Regions from separate parts of the Homo sapiens genome. Here all the other regions are linked to region 4. Evidence: promoter capture Hi-C in human tissues and cell types (Jung and others, 2019). All regions are on one chromosome and are shown on one strand. The core of a region is centred on a gene start or on the middle of the fragment in contact, and the rest is flanking DNA. Distances in the headings are between cores, read along the strand shown. Region 1 holds the start of PRSS57 (serine protease 57). Region 2 holds the start of FSTL3 (follistatin like 3). Region 3 holds the start of EFNA2 (ephrin A2). Region 4 holds the start of TMEM259 (transmembrane protein 259).

The links. Contacts are between HindIII fragments. The study calls those that stand out against the background at their distance.
Region 1: a contact is called between the fragment with the promoter of PRSS57 here and the fragment with the promoter of TMEM259 in region 4, in 1 of the 25 tissues and cell types used here (dorsolateral prefrontal cortex).
Region 2: a contact is called between the fragment with the promoter of FSTL3 here and the fragment with the promoter of TMEM259 in region 4, in 1 of the 25 tissues and cell types used here (hippocampus).
Region 3: a contact is called between the fragment with the promoter of EFNA2 here and the fragment with the promoter of TMEM259 in region 4, in 1 of the 25 tissues and cell types used here (spleen).

Annotation. Positions count from the first base shown.
Region 1 is chr19:693,202-697,417 of GRCh38, forward strand. It overlaps PRSS57 (serine protease 57), which reads right to left and starts at 2,251. Exons shown (of 5, transcript NM_001308209.2): 1 at 2,151-2,251; 2 at 1,613-1,766. The coding sequence starts at 2,229. The HindIII fragment of the contact is 19,970 bases long and covers 1-4,216 here.
Region 2 is chr19:673,702-678,266 of GRCh38, forward strand. It overlaps FSTL3 (follistatin like 3), which reads left to right and starts at 2,691. Exons shown (of 5, transcript NM_005860.3): 1 at 2,691-2,825; 2 at 4,091-4,276. The coding sequence starts at 2,723. The HindIII fragment of the contact is 14,894 bases long and covers 1-4,565 here.
Region 3 is chr19:1,283,793-1,288,090 of GRCh38, forward strand. EFNA2 (ephrin A2) reads left to right here and starts at 2,081. Exons shown (of 4, transcript NM_001405.4): 1 at 2,081-2,516. The coding sequence starts at 2,377. RefSeq lists enhancers at 1,165-1,665, 1,666-2,166, 4,171-4,298. The HindIII fragment of the contact is 32,397 bases long and covers 1-4,298 here.
Region 4 is chr19:1,017,936-1,022,372 of GRCh38, forward strand. It overlaps TMEM259 (transmembrane protein 259), which reads right to left and starts at 3,188. Exons shown (of 11, transcript NM_001033026.2): 1 at 2,837-3,188. The coding sequence starts at 3,061. RNU6-2 (RNA, U6 small nuclear 2) reads left to right here and starts at 3,587; the gene lies at 3,587-3,693. RefSeq lists silencers at 472-691, 2,950-3,009, 3,040-3,109, 3,270-3,379 and an enhancer at 1,075-1,674. The HindIII fragment of the contact is 9,371 bases long and covers 2,289-4,437 here.

The DNA.
Region 1 (4,216 bases), core at 1,001-3,500, 330 kb before region 4:
ATTACAGGCGTGAGCCACCGCACCCGGCCTTTTTTTTTTTTTTTTTTTTGAGACAAGGTCTCACTCTGTCACCCAGGCCGCAGTGGTGTGATCACAGCTCACTGCAGCCTCGACCTCCCAGGCTCAAGCGATCCTCCCACAGCAGCCTTTCAAGTAGCTGGGACCACAGAAGCACAGCTCCGGTGCGGAGGACTCTGCGGGGAGGAGGGGGTGGGTGAGATGGGGGTGACGGCTGCCCGTCTGGGCCTCAGTCCACTCATCTATGAAATGGAGGCCCAGTAATCCATTTAATGCTCACGCCGGCCCCGTGATAATATTAGGTTGGTGCAAAAGTAATTGCACGAAAAAAATTAAATGGCAAAAACCACAATTAACTTTTTTTTTTCCGACAGAATCTCACTCTTTCCCCTAGGCTGGAGTGCAGTGGTGCCATCTCGGCTCACTGCCACCTCCACCTCCTGGGTTCAAGTGATTCTCCTACCTCAGCCTCCCGAGTAGCTGGGGATACGTACAGCCACTTGCTACCATGCCCAACTAATTTTCGTATTTTTTTTTTGAGACAGAGTCTCGCTCTGTCCCCCAGGCTGGAGTGCAGTGGCGCGATCTCGGCTCACTGAAAGCGCCGCCTCCCGGGTTCACGCCATTCTCCTGCCTCAGCCTCCTGGGTAGCTGGGACTACAGGCGCCTGCCACCACATCCGGCTAATTTTTTTGTATTTTTAGTAGAGATGGGGTTTCACTGTATTAGCCAGGATGGTCTCGATCTCCTGACCTCGTGATCCTCCTGCCTCGGCCTCCCAAAGTGCTGGGATTACAGGCATGAGCCACCGCACCCAGCCTAATTTTCGTATTTTTAGTAGAGACAGAGTTTCACCATGTTGGCCAGGCTGGTCTCATACTCCTGACCTCAAACAATCCACCGTGTCCCAACGTGAGGGGGACTGCAGGCTGGCGGGGGAGCTGGGGACACTGCAGCCCAGGACCAACCTATCCCGTGCCTGGTGGGGGCTCCTGCAGGAGGGGACCCACCCACCCTGGCCCCAATATACATTTTAATAGTTATTATAACAATATGTTTAAAACGAGGCAGGGCATGGCGGCTCACACCTGCAATCCCAGCACTTTGGGAGGCAGAGGCGGGTGGATCATTTGAAGTCAGGAGTTCGAGACCAGCCTGGCCAACATGGTGAAATCCAGTCTCTACTAAAAATGCAAAAATTAGCCAGGTGTGGTGGTGGGCGCCTGTGATCCCAGCTACTCGGGAAGCTGAGGCAGGAGAATCGCTTGAGCCCGGGAGGTGGAGGTTGCAGTGAGCCGAGATTGCACCGTTGCACTCCAGCCTGGGGAACCGAGACTGCCTCAAAAAAAAAAAAGAACATAGTGACAGTTACAGTAACAGAATATGTACTTGTTGCGCCTGTTGCTTCTTCTGTGCTTCTTTTGCCTCCCTGCCTTATCCTCCTGTTTTCCCTTTGTTGCCCTTTAAATCCAGCCCCTGCTGAGACTCCCCCTCCTGCAGGAGCCACGGCGCCCCCAGCTCCCCCACCAGCCTGGAGTCCCCCTCATGTCGGGATACGGTGTCCAGAAAGAAGGGGCCCGACAGGTGAGCTCACCTGTGGCTGAAGCAGTGGGCGGCCGAGACCACCCAGCGGGCTCGCAGCAGGAAGCCTCCGCAGTGATGTTGGCCCCCGAAGCGCACGGATGCCATGTAGGGCCTGGAGTGGGGGGTCACCTCGTGGCCCCCGATGATCTGGGCCCCCCAGGAGCCTGCTGGAGGGACGGCCTGAGTCAGGGACGAGGCGGGAGGAACGGATGACGGGGCTGGGGTCAGGGCAGGGGGAGAAGTAGCGGCCAAGACAGAGACAGGGGGTGAGATTAGAGACGGAGAGACCCAGAGAGCTGGAGACAGAGCCCAGACAAGCCCCCCAGATGCGCTGGGAGGGGCTCCCGAGCCCGGGAGATCCAGGGCTGGGCTGGGCAGAGACCCCGGCCGGATTTCCATCCATTTCCAGCAGAGGCAGCCACGGGGGCTCGGCAGATGGAGCAGGTGGAGCTCTCCCCAGGGTTCTCCCGGGACTGGGGGTTCCCGGGTGTGGCCCCCGTACGGGGACTTGGCGGGGGCCTGGGTGGGGATCCCGGGGGGCTCCTCACCGGGGGGCTTCACGGGCAGCATCAGGGCGGTGGCCACAGTCAGCAGAGGACGTCCCCAGCCCCTCAACCCGAGCCCCATGGCAGACGCAGGCTGGCGTCTCCCCGCAGAGGTCTTCGGGCCGTGGCTCCCACCCTCAGCCAACGGCCGGAAAGGGGGAGCCTGGCTGTGGCCTGTGGTCGGGAGGCCCCACCAGCAACGCCTGGAGCCCAGGCGGGCGTTTCTGAGAAATCGATGGTCTCAGGTGGTGGCTGGTAATAATCATGTTGATAATAATCATTGTCCCCTAGTCCGGAAACAGGGAGAGGAGGAGACAGCTCTGGGGCTGCAAGTGACCTCGGGAAGGCAATTGACCCTTCTGTGCCTCAGTTTACCCAGCCTCCACGTGGCCCAGCATGTGTGGGGAGCTTTCCGAGGAACCGAGGTCACAGCGGCACTCGAGACCCGCAGCTCGCCTCCGGCCCCCACCCCGCAAACCCCAGTCTTCCCATCTCCAAACCCAGGGCCGACCTCAGGGCTGTGGGGACAGCGAGGAAGGCCGGTCTCCTGGGAAGCTCTGATGATTTCTGCCTTTATTTTATTTTATTTTTATAGGTGGGGTTTTGCTATGTTGCCCAGGCTGGTCTCGAACTCCTGGGCTCCAGCGATCCTCCCTCCTCGGCCTTCCAAAGTGCTGAGATCACAGAAGACAGCCACTGCACCTGGCAGATTTCTGCCTTTATTCAGCAGTTATTGAGTGCCTAGTGTATACCAGACCTCATGCTAGGAGGTGAGGATGAGGCAGTGACCGCACCCCAGCCTGTAGCACTGACGTTCTGTGGGATCCGGAGTCCAGTGGGACATGGCTGTACATGGGGGTCTTCACCTTTTTTTTCTTTTCTTTTTTTTTTTGAGATGGAGTCTTGCTCTTGTTGCCCAGGCTAGAGTGGAATGGCACCATCTCGGCTCACCGCAACCTCTACCTCCCGGGTTCGAGTGATTCTCGTTCCTCAGCCTCCCGAGTAACTGGAACTACAGGCGCCCGCCACCACAGCCGGCTAATTTTGTTTCTGTATTTTTAGTAGAGACGGGGTTTCACCATATTAGCCAGGATGGTCTCGATCTCCTGACCTCATGATCCGCCCGCCTCGGCCTCCCAAAGTGCTGGGATTACAGGCATGAGCCACGGTGCCCGGCCTTTTTTTTTTTTTTTTTTTTTTTGAGAAGGAATCTTGCTCTTGTTGCCCAGGCTAGAGTGCAGTGGCGCGATCTTGGCTCACCGCAACCTCTGTCTCCTGAGTTCAAGGGATTCTCCTTCCTCAGCCTCCTGAGTAACTGGGATTACAGGTGCCCACCACCACGCCCCGCTAAATTTGTGTGTTTAGTAGAGACGGAGTTTCTCCATGTTGGTCAGGCTGGTCTCGAACTCCCGACCTCAGGTGATCCACCTGCCTCAGCCTCCCAAAGTGCTGGGATGACAGGCCTGAGCCACCGCGCCCAGCCCGGCAGGTCTTCACCTTTCAGTGGGAGCGTTCTTAGTGGCAAAGTTCAGGTCGTAAATTGCAGCTCACACAGCCGGGTGATGGCGTTCACGGCAGTGGCTAGCAGTGGGGTGCTCGTCAGCGCTTAATAATGAACAGGCTGGGGCCGGGTGCAGTGGCTCACGCCTATAATCCTAGCACTTTGGGAGGCCGAGGCAGGTGGATCACCTGAGGTCAGGAGTTCAAGACCAGCCTGGCCAACATAGTGAAACCCCGTCTCTACTTAAAGTACCAAAATTAGTCAGGCGTGGTGGCAGGTGCCTGTAATCCCAGCTACTTGGGAGGCTGAGGCAGGAGAATCGCTTGAACCGGGAGGTGGAGGTGGCAGTGAGCCAAGATTGCACCATTGCACTCCAGCCTGGGTGACAGAGCGAGACACCATCTCAAAAAAAAAAAAAAAAAAAAAGTCATCATTGAACGCTCCAGACCTGTGTTTTACCAAATGTAAAGTGTTCTCAATAAAGAATGAAGTGAAATGAAGCAACAGGAAATGCGTGGAAAGGAAGGTATGAAAAGGCCCCACAACGAACTCGGGCTCTGCGAGATGC
Region 2 (4,565 bases), core at 1,441-3,940, 340 kb before region 4:
AACTCAGTCCCATCTGCAGAGCCCCTTTGGCCAGGGAGGGTGGGACACCCACGGGTTCTAGGGATGAGGGCCCCATGGTCTCTGGGACCGCCGTTCTGCTGACCACCCCCCACTGCTCTCCCCCTCACTCACAGCACAAGCGTCTGTTTCCAGCGCACACCCCTGCCGCTCCGTCTGACGTTCGAGTCTCAACCTCAACGTCTCTTTCCTCTGGGAAGCCTTCCTCAGTCTCCCCCAGGCCCGGGTCAGGCCTGGGGCACCTTTGCCATCTGGGCATCCTCCGCCACAGAACAACACTGGATTGTCACTGTCTGTTTACCTGTCAGGATGTACCTGGAGGGAGACAGAAGCCTGGGGGGTGAGCAGAGGCCACGAGGAGCCACGGTGGGTGTCTGAGCCAGGGAGAAGTGTTATGGCAGCTGGGGTAGGAAGTGGGCCGCAGGGGCCAGGCTGCGGGCTGGAAGTCCTAGGATGAGCCTCGGGCCTGGATAGGGTGGGGAGAGGGGCAGAGCCGGGAGAGGGGAGGTCATCACTGGGGTCTCAGGAGGAGGCGGCGCTCTGGAAAGGGTCAGTGACCTGTTAGAGGTCACCCTGCACAGAGCCTCTGGGTTAGGGAAGACAGAGCCGGGAGCAGGAGGCCACTGGCAGCTGGCCTCGGTTTCCCCGGAGAGGGCCGGAACCCACGCCAGCCAGACAATGACCCTTTGATTCGCACAGCCCAGGCCGGAGTGGCCAAGCCACGGCGGGGTCAGGTCTTGGCCAAGGTCACACTGTCCAGCCCCCGCACATCCTCAGTGAGAACACAGGGTCCCATCCCTGCCCCACTCCCCAATCCCGGGAGAGTCCCGGGGGAATGCCAGAGGCCAAGGCCAGGTCGAGACGGCGGGGTGTCCCCCGTCAGTGAGAACACAGGGTCCTGTGCCTGCCCCACTCCCCAAGCCGGGGAGATTCCCGGGGGAAATGCCAGAGGCCAAGGCCAGGTCGAGACGGCGGGGTGTCCCCCCTCAGTGAGAACACAGGGTCCCGTCCCTGCCCTGCTCCCCAAGCCGGGGAGATTCCCGGGGGAAATGCCAGAGGCCAAGGCCAGGTCGAGACGGCGGGGTGTCCCCCCTCAGTGAGAATACAGGGTCCCGTCCCTGCCCTGCTCCCCAAGCCGGGGAGATTCCCGGGGGAAATGCCAGAGGCCAAGGCCAGGTCAAGACGGCGGGGTGTCCCCCCTCAGTGCCACTAAGGCAGAACTTGGCCCCTGGCCACTGGCTGCTGGGGGACACAGGCTGGGCAGCTAAGGTGGAGGAAAGGGTACAGGTGTGTCTTCTGTGGGCACAGATCTCACTCAGGCCAGAGAAGGGGCTGTGCCGTGGGGCTGCTGGACACGTCCGTTTCCACCTGCGGGGTGGGCAATGCCGGCACAGCGAGTGGCCAGACACAGGCATGCCCAGCAGACACCCAACCGCTCTCCACCACCTCAACCTTCTGTATTTTCCTGAAAGCATTTACCACTCCTTGAAGTTATAGATTAATTTGTCTCTGCATTTTGTTGTCCAAACCAGGAGCTCGGTGAGGGTGTGATGGGGTCTGCCTTGGTCACCGTGGCACCCCAGCACCCCGCAGGGTCCCTCTGGCCAAAAGAGATGTTCACTGATGCCCTAGAAGCAGGAACAGAGGGGCTCCCCTGCGCTCGCCAAGGGCGCCTGACAAATCTGGAGGCCCCCATGACAGAATCAGCTCCAGAGTAGGAAATGTGTCTGGCTGCACGAAAGCCCCCTCGGGCGCAGCGCCTCCAGGCCCACGCAGATGTCGCTGTCATACATTGTTGGAAACGCCTCTGCTGGAAACAGTGTTTGCTGAATCTTGGAGGGAGAGGAAAAAACCTAGTAAACATTCTTGTTGAGGTGATCTGGGGGAATGTCTGCAAAGGCTTGGAGGGCTGATGGGGCAGAGCTGCCCAGGGGCCCAGGACAAAGGCCAGGCGTGCGCGCGCACACACACACACACACACACACACACACGCAGTGGCCTCCCTGGGGGCCGTGGCTGGGCGAGGCCTGCTGTTGTCCGAGATGCTGGAAGGAGCTGTGTCTCTGGGTCTGTCCCGGCCGCACCCCGTTCTGTCCCACACCCAACCACTCCCCACCCACAGGCCGGCTCCAGCGGCCAGGTGGACGGGTGCGCGGCCCGCGCTGTGAGCAGGGAACCATATCCAGCTGAGGTTTTGGGTGTGTGGGGCGGGTCGGGAACAAGGAGGCCGGGTTGGGGGGCTCAGACCACACTTGGACCATGAAAGTGACCACATGCAAATCACAGAAACGGGATGCAGGGATCCACAGACGTGCTCCTCTTGGGTCCCCGTTACCTCACCGCCACCCCTGAAACTGAAGACCCCCAAACCCACTTTAATTCCTGGAGACGGCCCCTCGATCCACCCAAAAGGCTGCCACCACCTCGAACCCACACCCCTGTCCCGGTTCCGCCCTGGGTCCAGCCACATCTCCCCAAATGCATTCTCTGGCTCCGGAAGGGGACCCGGGCGCTCGCCCCCAACTGCCCCCCGCAGCGGCCGGGCCCGGCGCCTGCCCACCCCGCGCGGGACACGGCCTCGCCCCCGCCACTCCCGCGCCGCGCCCCGCCCCGCGCCCCGCCCCGCCCGCGGCCCGCGGGACCTTTATAGGGAGCGCCGGCCGCGCGCTGGGAAGTCGGTGCCGCTGCCGTCTCTGCGTTCGCCATGCGTCCCGGGGCGCCAGGGCCACTCTGGCCTCTGCCCTGGGGGGCCCTGGCTTGGGCCGTGGGCTTCGTGAGCTCCATGGGCTCGGGGAACCCCGCGCCCGGTGAGTGGGGCGGCCAGAGGGGCGGGCGGGGCGGGCCACCCACGTGGGGCTGCGCGGAATGCGGCCGGGGGGACGTCGGGGGGCGCGGCGGCGGCGGCGGGGGCGAGGGCGGTGTCCGGCGCAAGCTGGAGCCGGGAAGGTCTGAAGGAGGGTCACCAAGAGGTCAGCAGAGCAGAGGTTTCTAATCACAATGACCGCTGACATTTATTGAGCGCTTAGTGTCTACCTCTCCCCTCCCTGAACCTGTGCCATCCCGATAGTGCCGGAGCTCTCTTCATCTCCGTCTTCCAGATGGGGAAACTGAGGCTCAGGGTCACACAGCCTGTAGCAGGCAAAGCCAGGGTTCTAGCCGCGACCGTCCGGGTCGGTCCTGGTGCCGAGAGGTAGTGCTGGGTGTCGGGAGCCAGGCCCTCCAGCTGGGGCTGAGAGCTTTCCCGGGTCCTGGGTAGACGGGGCATGGAGTCTCACACCTGGGACTTGCCGGGAGGTGCCAGGCAGGAGACGGCCCCACTCCTGGCCTCAGTTTCCCCTCCTATGATGGGTGCCAAGGTGCTGCGTTCCACAAGCTGGTCCCTGGCAGTGTCTGTGAACCAGCAAGCGCTCTGGGATGGGGGCTGTGGCCGTTCCTGCCCCCAGGGACGGGGGAAGAAATGGGGGGCTCTCTGGCTCCCCACCCCCCATCCCTGCAGCCCCACCCCACCCCAGCCCTGCGCCAAAGGGAGAGCAGAGCCCCCTCCCCGAAGGCCACGTCCCTGGGGAGACAGTGAGCTCATGCAAGGGGAATGTTCCCAAGTTGGAGTGAGTAAGAGGCGGGCCAGGCGGTGGGGGGGCTGCCAGGCGCGGGGCTCCGCGTGCCCTCGCCCTCGGGTGCTGTCTAGACAGAGGGCAGAGGCGGGAGAAGCGGCTCCAGGGCCTGCTGACCCTGACATGCCCAGTGCCTGGTGTTTGGTGGTGTTTGAGGGGTTGGGCAGGGTGCCAGCCCCTGGCCTGGGGGCTTGGAGGGTACGGGAAGGGACCTCCTGGGGTGGGTGGGGGTTGGTGGTGAGGCTGTGGGGGGGGGCACGTGGAGCTCAGAGGGGAGGAGACATTTCCAGGGTTCTGGAGCCAGGGTGGGGACACCCATGTGGTTTTCTGCCCCTTCTTCCTGGGTGGGGGTAGATCATTCCGTGCGTAACTACTCAGCACCACCTGCATGCATCTGTGGGCGGGCCAGAAGCTGGGTGTCAGGAGTGGCCCAGGAGAGCACCCCGTTCCCCGGCCCGCAGGTGGTGTTTGCTGGCTCCAGCAGGGCCAGGAGGCCACCTGCAGCCTGGTGCTCCAGACTGATGTCACCCGGGCCGAGTGCTGTGCCTCCGGCAACATTGACACCGCCTGGTCCAACCTCACCCACCCGGGGAACAAGATCAACCTCCTCGGCTTCTTGGGCCTTGTCCACTGCCTTCCCTGCAAAGGTGAGACCTCAGGCCAGAAGCAGGGCAGACGTCTCAGCTCAGGACCAGCCACAAACAGTCATGGTGGTCGAGGGCCGAACGTCCAGGGACTGAGCCCGTCACAGGGGTATGTAGGAGGCTGCAGGGGGATCCCAGCCTCAGAGAGGGACTGGGGGGACTTCCCGGTTCCCAGGCTCCAGCCTCTTGCAGCTCAGGACTCAGGAAGAGACCACGTGGCTCCAGCCTTTGCTGGGGCTGAGCTCTCTGCCTGGGTGGCTCTTCCCACCTGGTCGATAAATGTCTGGCTTGC
Region 3 (4,298 bases), core at 831-3,330, 260 kb after region 4:
GGCGGTGGTGGCGGCTCTCGCCTCGGTGGCCCCTGCATGCAAATGAGTGGCCCTGCCATGCCTGGGTGGAGGTGGTGCCCTTCCAGCTCCCACCTGTGCAGGTCCCAGTCCTGGTTTGAGAAGAGACCCCCTCCTCCCGACCCTGGCCCACCCCTCCTCACCCACGAGATCCCTTGAAGCAGGAGGGGGCTTCTGGTCCCAGGGTAGAAGGAAGCTTCCAGAACTCCCACCTTTGCCAGGTGGCATGCTGGGGCCGGGCACGCCAAGACCCCAGGCTCACGGCCCCTTGTCCTGTGCTTGGGTGCAGCCGCCACACTCTGCTCCGAAAGTGCTCACCTCCGGGAGTGGCCGTCCCCCTCCCTAAAAGAGCCCCCCACCAGACGGAGCCGCCCGGGAAGCTTCTCCAGCCTGTCTGGGCTACAGAGCCTTGTGTGGCTAGAACCCAAGGCCCTCACTCCAGGGGTGCTGAGAGAGCCTGTCCAGAGGGCCTGCCTCAGCCACCACCTGGGACAGGTTCACGCCCTCCACTGAAGAGACACCCGGCCAGCCCTGGGCCTTCGACCTGGGACGTCTGTAGTGGGGTCAGGGGATGAGACCTGGAGCTCAGAACAGACGGGCTGAGCTCCCTGGAGGAGAGAGAACTGAGAACCTTGTCCTGGCAGGGACGCTAGAGCACTGGGTGGGACAGACCTTTCTGGAAGAGCAAGATTTTAACAGGAAGAAAAAGTGGAAGGACTTCCCAGCAGGACCCAGCCTGAACAAAGGTCAGGTGGTGTGGCCCGCGTGGCCCGCTGGGGAATCGGGGGAGGAGGGCACGCAGGAGACACAGGACAGAGCCCACCACGTCTCAGAGCTGTGGGACGGTGGTGGGTCCGGTCCCCACCCCACCTTGCTGGGGCACAGGTTAGCTTGCCCATCTCTGGGTTCACGGTCCCTGCCAGGAGTTTGGGTAATGCCTCACACAGGGACCTTCGGGTCCAAGGGCTGTTGGTGCTTGCCCTGCAGTTCCCTCTCCTGCACTGGGCCTGGTGAATGACACTAATTCAGAGACGTACAACACGATCTGGGCATCGCCAGCAAAGTCCAGCCAGCGTTTGATGACAGCCTACCCTCCACAAGCTCAGAGTCTGGTGAGGGAGGCTGTGGCATGAATAAGGGCAAAAACAGAGGGCAGGCCAGGTGCAGTGGCTCACGCCTGTAATCCTAGCACTTTGGGAAGCCCAGGTGGGAAGATCGCCTGAGCCCAGGAGTTCAAGACCAGCGTGGCCAACATGGCCAGACACTGTCTCTATAGATTGGAAAAAAGACAAAGCAGAGGCCAGGCCCCCAGTTCCCCACCTGTGTCAGCCTACCAGGAGGAGAAATCACTCGGCGTTCCCTGAACAGATCAGACCCCGGGTCTTTGCACAAGCTGTGCCCCCGGGCAGCGGCCCTCCCCTGCCTGCAGGATTCGTGCGTGGAGACTGATTTGCTGTCGGCCGGGGCTTCACTCTGGGCTTCTTGGATCCCATCCCCAGCTGCTCACACTCCACATCGGTCCACCTACTATGCTCCCGGCACCCTTAGGGCTGAGGTGTAGGGACTTACTCCATCCCCAGGGAACAGCGTGGGTCCGGAGAGGCGACTCCCAGGAGGGCCCCAGGGAGGTCGCAGCCCGAGCAGCTTTGGACTTTGGCCAGCGCCCCTCTGAAACTCTGCCCCGGCCCCCGCAGGGAGACTGGAGTTGGCCGAGCCCGATTTGGGACGCGTGCGTCGGGGTTGGTGAGGCTGCGGATAGCGCTGGAACCGGGCAGGTGAGAGGCCCGGGACCCAGGGCCGGGCCGGGTGGAGCGCGTGGGGGCGCGGGAGGCAGGGTGCGCCCCCGCCCCTCGGAGACCCCAGGCCGGGCCACGCGGATGCCGGCGGGGGGCGCGCAGAATCGGGGTCGCTGGGGGCAGGCCCCGGGGGACGAGCCTGAGACGGGGTGGGCCGGGGCAGGGGGCGGGCGCAGGCTGGAGACCCCCGCCCAGTCCCCGCGCGGCCGGGGCACGGCGGGAGGGGGCGCCCGCGGCCCTCCCGACGCTCGGGCGGGACAAAGGCCGGAGCCCGGGCCCCTCCCCGGCGGGTGCGGCGGCGGCGGCCCGCGCTCCGACAGTCCGCGCGGCCGGGTCCTGCGCCCGGGGCGACCCCGGCGCCCCGCCCCGCCGCCGCCTGACTTCTCGGCGCCCGAGGTCGCGCGCGCGGAGGCGGGGGCGGCCCGGGATCTCCAAGCGCCGCCGCGCCCTCCTCCCGCCCGCCCTCCGCCCGCCCGCTCGGCGGCGGCGGCGGCGGCGGAGGAGGCGGAGAAGGCTGGCAGGCGGCGGCCGGGAGAGCGAGCGCGGCGGCCGGACCGGGGCCATGGCGCCCGCGCAGCGCCCGCTGCTCCCGCTGCTGCTCCTGCTGTTACCGCTGCCGCCGCCGCCCTTCGCGCGCGCCGAGGACGCCGCCCGCGCCAACTCGGACCGCTACGCCGTCTACTGGAACCGCAGCAACCCCAGGTGAGCGCGGCCGCGCGCGGGGGGCGCCCGGGGACCCCCCAACGCCCCCCAAGCCGCGCCCGGCCTCGCGCCCCCGGAGCTCCGGGCGCCCCCCACGCGCGCGCCGCCGCCGGGATGCGGGCGCCCGGTTCCCGCGGGAGCCCCCCAGGGAGCTCCGGCCCCCCGGAGTTTGGGGGACTCGCCCTTTTCGCGCCTGCCTTCCCCGGGGCGCCCCATTGCCCTACGGACTGTGGGGACTCGCGCCCCACATCCCCCAGAGCGCCGACGTCTCCTGGAGTTTGGGGAACCCCTCTGGTACCCTCCGATGCCGGGTAGCCCCTGAGTTGCCTGCCTGGACTTGGGGGGACCCCTGATCCACCCGCTTCTCTGGGGAGCCCCCTCGGTTTCGCATTTGGTGGGGATCCCCGGGGACCTTGGCACCGGAGGTGGGGGACTGTGGCCCTCGAGGGATCTCTGGGTTCGTCCTGCCCGCAGGTCCCCAGATGAACTTGGGGAAGTTGGAGTGTCCCTCCCTCAGGACCCAGCATCTGCTTCACTCCAGGGGGCCAAGGGCCCAGCTTTGAAAGGAGACTGAGGGGCCGGGGAGCTGGGGGTCAGCCCCGGGAGGGGCAGTGGGATGGAGTCCTCTCTTGTCCTCTGGGCGCTGACCAGGAAACTGAGGTGCAGAGGGGATGAGGAGCTGGCTCAAGGTCATGCAAGGGGGGGACTTGGGGGCAGGACCCAGGTGGCCCAGTGCCCTGCCTGCCACGCCCGGCCGAGATGCCGCACCCGCCTGCTGCAGGCCCCCTTGTTTTGAACCAGGTCCGGGCCAGGCACAACGTGGGGGACAGGAGAAGCCCCCGTTGGTCAGAGCAAAAAAAGTTTGCCGGGGCCTGGCCATGGCCTGGACGTGGGTAGAACCCTCTGAACCATCCCAGGGTCTCCAAGACAGGAGCAGGCTGCAGCTTCCCTGGGGGTCCCGTGGGAGCCGGGGCTTTGGGGGTCCTGGGGCTCGGGAGGGAGTCAGCCCCAGCACTCAGGGTGTCACCGTCTTCCTAAGGCACACGGAGCTGCACATCGGGGGCTGAGGCGGCCCCCCCCCACTCTTCTGCTACTGGTCACTTTCTCTCCGTTTTCCAGCCGCTTCCTGTGCCGACCGAGCCGCCCTCTGGAGCCCGCCACCCCTCCTTGTCCCCTCTGTCTCCTGCTGTCCTCGGTCCCCGGGAGGAAAGTTGCATGAAGGGGTCTCTTTGAGGCGGGCTCGGGGACAAGGGCGGCCCGTGTTCCGCCGTGGGGGTGGGGAACACGCACAGGCCCACCCCCCACCCTGGTCAACGGCCTCGGGTCGGGCCCTGGGGGCTGAGGGCAGGGACCCCGGGCCGCTGGGGGACGGCTGGCCCACCTCAGAGCGGGTCCCCGAGCCGCCCGCTGTGCTGGTCACATGTGGGTTTGATTAAGGCTGTCGCTGGCCGTGCGGGGAGTCCAGCGGGCAGCGCTTCCCCGGCCCAAGTTTTTGGTTTCAGCTGCGGAATCTCCCGTCCCCAGCGTGGCCTGTCCTTTGTTCTAGCAAACGCCAAACACACGAGGACCCGGCAACCGGGGGAGGAAGGTGGTCACCAGGGCCGTCCTGCTGCCCCACCTGCCACAGGGCTGTGGGCTGCGGGCCGGACCCCCGGCCAGGGGAAGGAAGTGGCCTCCCCAGTGCCTGGCTTGGCCCAGCCACCTCCTGTTGCTCCGGGTCTGACCTGGTTGCCCAGCTCAAACCGCTGCCTGAGGGAACGGCCTTGCTGGTCCGCAGAGCCG
Region 4 (4,437 bases), core at 1,938-4,437:
CTCAATGTGACAGGTCCCCCATTCAGAGCAGGGCCCCTGGGGTCTCACATACCCCGTCTTTAATCGTCACGACCCCACAAGAGGAGCCCCATTACTCCCTGTGGCTAGGCGCGGGCCCCTGCCCATGTCCAGGGGTGCTGAGTCGAGACCCCTTCACCCTGTGGGCATCCACTTGGTGGTCACCTGGGTCCAGAGCCCAACCGCACAGGTGCAGGCACCCAGTGCCCCAAGATGGACAGTCTCTGCCACACTGGGCTCAGGGCCATGAAGGCCAGCAGAGGTGGATACTGAGGCTGGATGGAGGTCTCCCGAGGGCCCCTGGAACACAGGCCCCTGCCGCCTCCTCTCTCCCCAGCACCTGGCACTGCCTGGCATTTCCTAAAGCCACCCAGGCATGGATGAGGGACCGGGGGGCTCCATGCTGGCTCAGAGCTGGGAGATCCTGGCATTTCCTAAAGCCACCCAGGCATGGGTGAGAGCTGGGGGACTCCATGCCAGCTCAGGGCTGGGAGCTCAGCTGCACAGATGCCACAGGATGAAGCCACCTTGAAGGGATCATACCAGGGAGGACCTGGCTCTCTGCAGGGAGACCCCCGGAAGCCAGGCAGGCAGGAAGCAGAGGAGCCTTCTGGAACTCAAGGCAGCCTCTGAAATCAGGCAGTTCCAGCCTGCACTTTGCAGATAAGTAAAAGTGAAGGCAGCAGGGTCAGATTCTGTGCCACCAGATTACCGGGTGGAAAATTCACAAAGAACAGATTTCCCCACCCAGGCCAGGCATGGTGGCTCACGCCTGTAATCCCAGCCTTTTGGGAGGCCGAGGCGGGCAGATCACCTGAAATCAGCAGTTTGAGACCAGCCTAGCCAACATGGCAAAACCCAGTCTCTACTAAAAAGACAAAAAAATTAGCCGGTTGTGATGGTGGGCACCGGTAATCCTAGCTACTCCGCAGGCTGAGGCAGAAGAATTGCTTGAACCCAGGAGGTGGAGTTTGCAGTGAGCCGAGATCAAACCACTGCACTCCAGCCTGGGTGACAGAGCAAGACTCCATCTCAAAAAAAAAAAAAAAAAAATTCACCACCCAGAGATCTCACAGTCCAAAGCCCTCTGCTGAGAGAGGAGGGATTGGGGTTACTGAGAACCTCCCAAGAGTCTCCACCCTACACAGAAGACGGGGAACTCCAGCTCTGGCCCAGCCCCATCTGACCACCTGTGAGTGGTATTGGCCTGGAGATGGAGCCGGGTAGGCTTGATCCCTTTCCAAACCGGGACATGGTGGGACCAGGGCCCAGGCGACAGGGATGCACCTCCCAAGGAGGCTGAGCTCCGTCGGGGGAACCTGGCCTGGCACCCAGCACACACCCTCCACAAGCCTAAGGACACAGTGGCTCCATCCTGTTCCCAGGCTACTCCATGGAAGGAAAACCCACGTCCACAGACCAGCCTCCGTCCACAGTTTCAGGCCCCGTCTGTGGACCCCAGAGCCGGGAAAGGCCGCCTGCCTGCGTAACCCTTCACAGCCCTGCTCAGGTGCCTACTGAGGCGACCATGCCACTCTGGGGGGCTGCAGGGAGGAAGGTGGGAAGGATGATGGGCTGAGCTCTGGCCTGGGGAGGCACGGATCTGGAGGCTGGGGGGCCTTCCGTGAAGTGGCAGCAGGCTGGGACCCACACCCAGGTCCGCAGGACGGCCAAGGTCCAGCTCCACTTGCCGAGCCCAAAAAAGCAGCCAGCTCCTGACCAACCTGTGTCAGGCTGGGAACTTGCCCACGATCGCAGCCTGGCCCGCCAGCATCGGACCCCTCTTTGCAGGCTAGATCCAAAAAGCTCACGGCGCAACTTCAGCAGCCCCCAAGCCCCGGCGCGGCGGTGTTCTGATGCAGAACGAAAACGGCCACGTCCCCATTTCGCCAGGTGGCCCAGGACCCCGGCCAGCTTGTTTTCTGAGGGGCTGCAGCTGCTACTGAGCCCCTCTTGTCACCCAAGCAAGACTCCTTCTCAGAGGGAGTCAGGCCGATGCCTGTCCTGCACGGCTGAGACCTCTGCCATCTGAGGAGGGCGGGAGGGGGACAGAGCCCAAGACGCGGAGGCCGGTGCCTCATAGGGGAGGCACGGGCGACAGACCCACAACCTGAGCTCCTGAAGCAGGAAGGGAGTGGGGACCCAGCGGAGGAAGAGGCCGGGGATGGGGTGGTACGCTGCTGCCGGTGACTTTGCCGCTAACCCTAGCGAGGTGACCTCAGCTAAGTCACATTCCCCTGAGGCTCAGGAGCGGGGAACGCAGCTGAAAGGCTACAAGGAGGGAGAGAGGGGAGTGGGGAGTCGACTTCCAGGACAGGGGTTGGTCCGAGGGAGACCTGCGTCAGGCTGGGTTCTGGGCCAGCACATTGGGAGGGGAGAGAGGCCTCGGAACTGAGGGTCTCAGGCGGCACAGTCAGGGGTCAAAGGGCGGGAGGTGCTACCTCGCAGGCCAGGACCGGACTCCAAGCCTGGGTAGGTGGGGACCTGGGAAAGGCGGTCGCCGGGGACAGGATGGGCCCTGGAGGGAGCTGACAGTGAGGTTTCCAGAGTAGAGAACAGCGGCTTCTAGTGCAGCGGGATCCGGCCTTCCCGGGTGGACGTCCCCGGGCGGGATGGGGTCACGAGACGGTGTCCCTGGCCAATCCCAGGGTCAGAGGTCGCGAGGGAGAGCCCTAATCGGTAGGGCCGGGTATAGGCCTCAGGGTGCAGGGTGGCGCTCGCTGTCCCCAGCGGGGCCAGGGGTCGCGGTCGGAGGTAGCAGACTTGGGGGTCGGGACAGCCGCTGGGGTCAAGGGTCGGGGGTCGGGGCCGCGGTCACCTTGAGCAGCACGAAGAACTCGAAGAGACGGCGGAAGGCGGGCGGGAAGAGCCGCGAATAGGTGACAGCCATCTTGAAGAACAGCGCGTGGAAGAGCCGGTCGCGCACGTTGATGAGGGGGTTGGGGTTGAGATTGGGGGTGCGAGGCCCGCGCGCGGGGGCCGGGCCGCCGCCGCCGCCGTTGGGCCCGGGCCCCGGAGCTGCGGGCTCCACGTGCTCCGACATGCCTCCCAGCGTCGCGCCCTAACGACCCGCAAGTGTCCGAGGGCGCCTCCCGGCCGCCATCGGCCGCCCTCGCAGCCGCCGCTCTCCTCACGGCCTCCCGGCCGCCGCCGCCATCTTCCGCTTTCTCGTCCGGCTGCGGCGCTGCTGACGCTAGCGAGTCGCCACGCCGGGCAAGAGCGGCCCCCCTGCGCCCGCAGAGAACGCTGGGATGCCAGCGGCGCCCGCGGAGGCCTCACCCCCTACCTCGGCCGCTCCAGGGGGCGGGCCTGCATCTGGGCCACCTCTTTTGCATATTGGCACCCACAATCCACCGCGGCTATGAGGCCAGTATAAGGCGGTAAAATTACGATAAGATATGGGATTTTACGTGATCGAAGACATCAAAGTAAGCGTAAGCACGAAAGTTGTTCTGCAACATACCACTGTAGGAAATTATGCTAAATATGAAACCGACCATAAGTTATCCTAACCAAAAGATGATTTGATTGAAGGGCTTAAAATAGGTGTGACAGTAACCCTTGAGTCGTGCTCGCTTCGGCAGCACATATACTAAAATTGGAACGATACAGAGAAGATTAGCATGGCCCCTGCGCAAGGATGACACGCAAATTCGTGAAGCGTTCCATATTTTTGCTGTAGTCTACAGCTCGTCACCTCGTTTGGCTTCTCTTGCCCGGATCCTGCCATGACGTCACAGGGCCAGTAACGTCATAGTCTTCCCGTGTCCATCTCCTGTGGCGCCACTAAGGTTGGCGGTAGAACAATCTGGCAGTCTCTACTCCTGCGTGGCGCTGTGCCACCTGCCCCCGTAGCTTCGCGCAGCAATGAATAAATAAGTGCTCTTCAGGGGCACTTACTGAGTGCCGGCTGCGTACACAAGAGGATACTATGGTTTTTGGGTTTTTTGGTTGTTTGTTTGAGATGGATTCTCGCTCTGTCGCCCAGGCTGGAGCGCAGAAGCGCGATCTCGGCTCTCTGCAACCCCCGCCTCCCGGGTTCAAGCCATTCTCCTGCCTCAGCCTCCCAAGTAGCTGGGATTACAGGCATGCGCCACCACTCCAGGCTAATTTTATATTTTTAGTAGAGACGGTTTCTCCATGTTGGTCAGGCTGGTCTCGAACTCCTAACTTTAGGTGATTTGCCCGCCTAGGCCTCCCAAAGTGCTGGGATTACAGGTGTGACCCACCAAGCCCGCCAAAAAAAAGTTTTGTGTTGTTTTTTTTTTTTGAGACGCAGTCTCACTCTGTCGCCCAGGCTGGAGTGCAGTGGCGTGATCTCGGCTCACTGCAACCTCCGCCTCTTGGGTTCAAGCAATTCTCTGCCTCAGCCTCCTGAATAGCTGGGATTGCAGGCTTCCGCCACCACACCCGGCTATT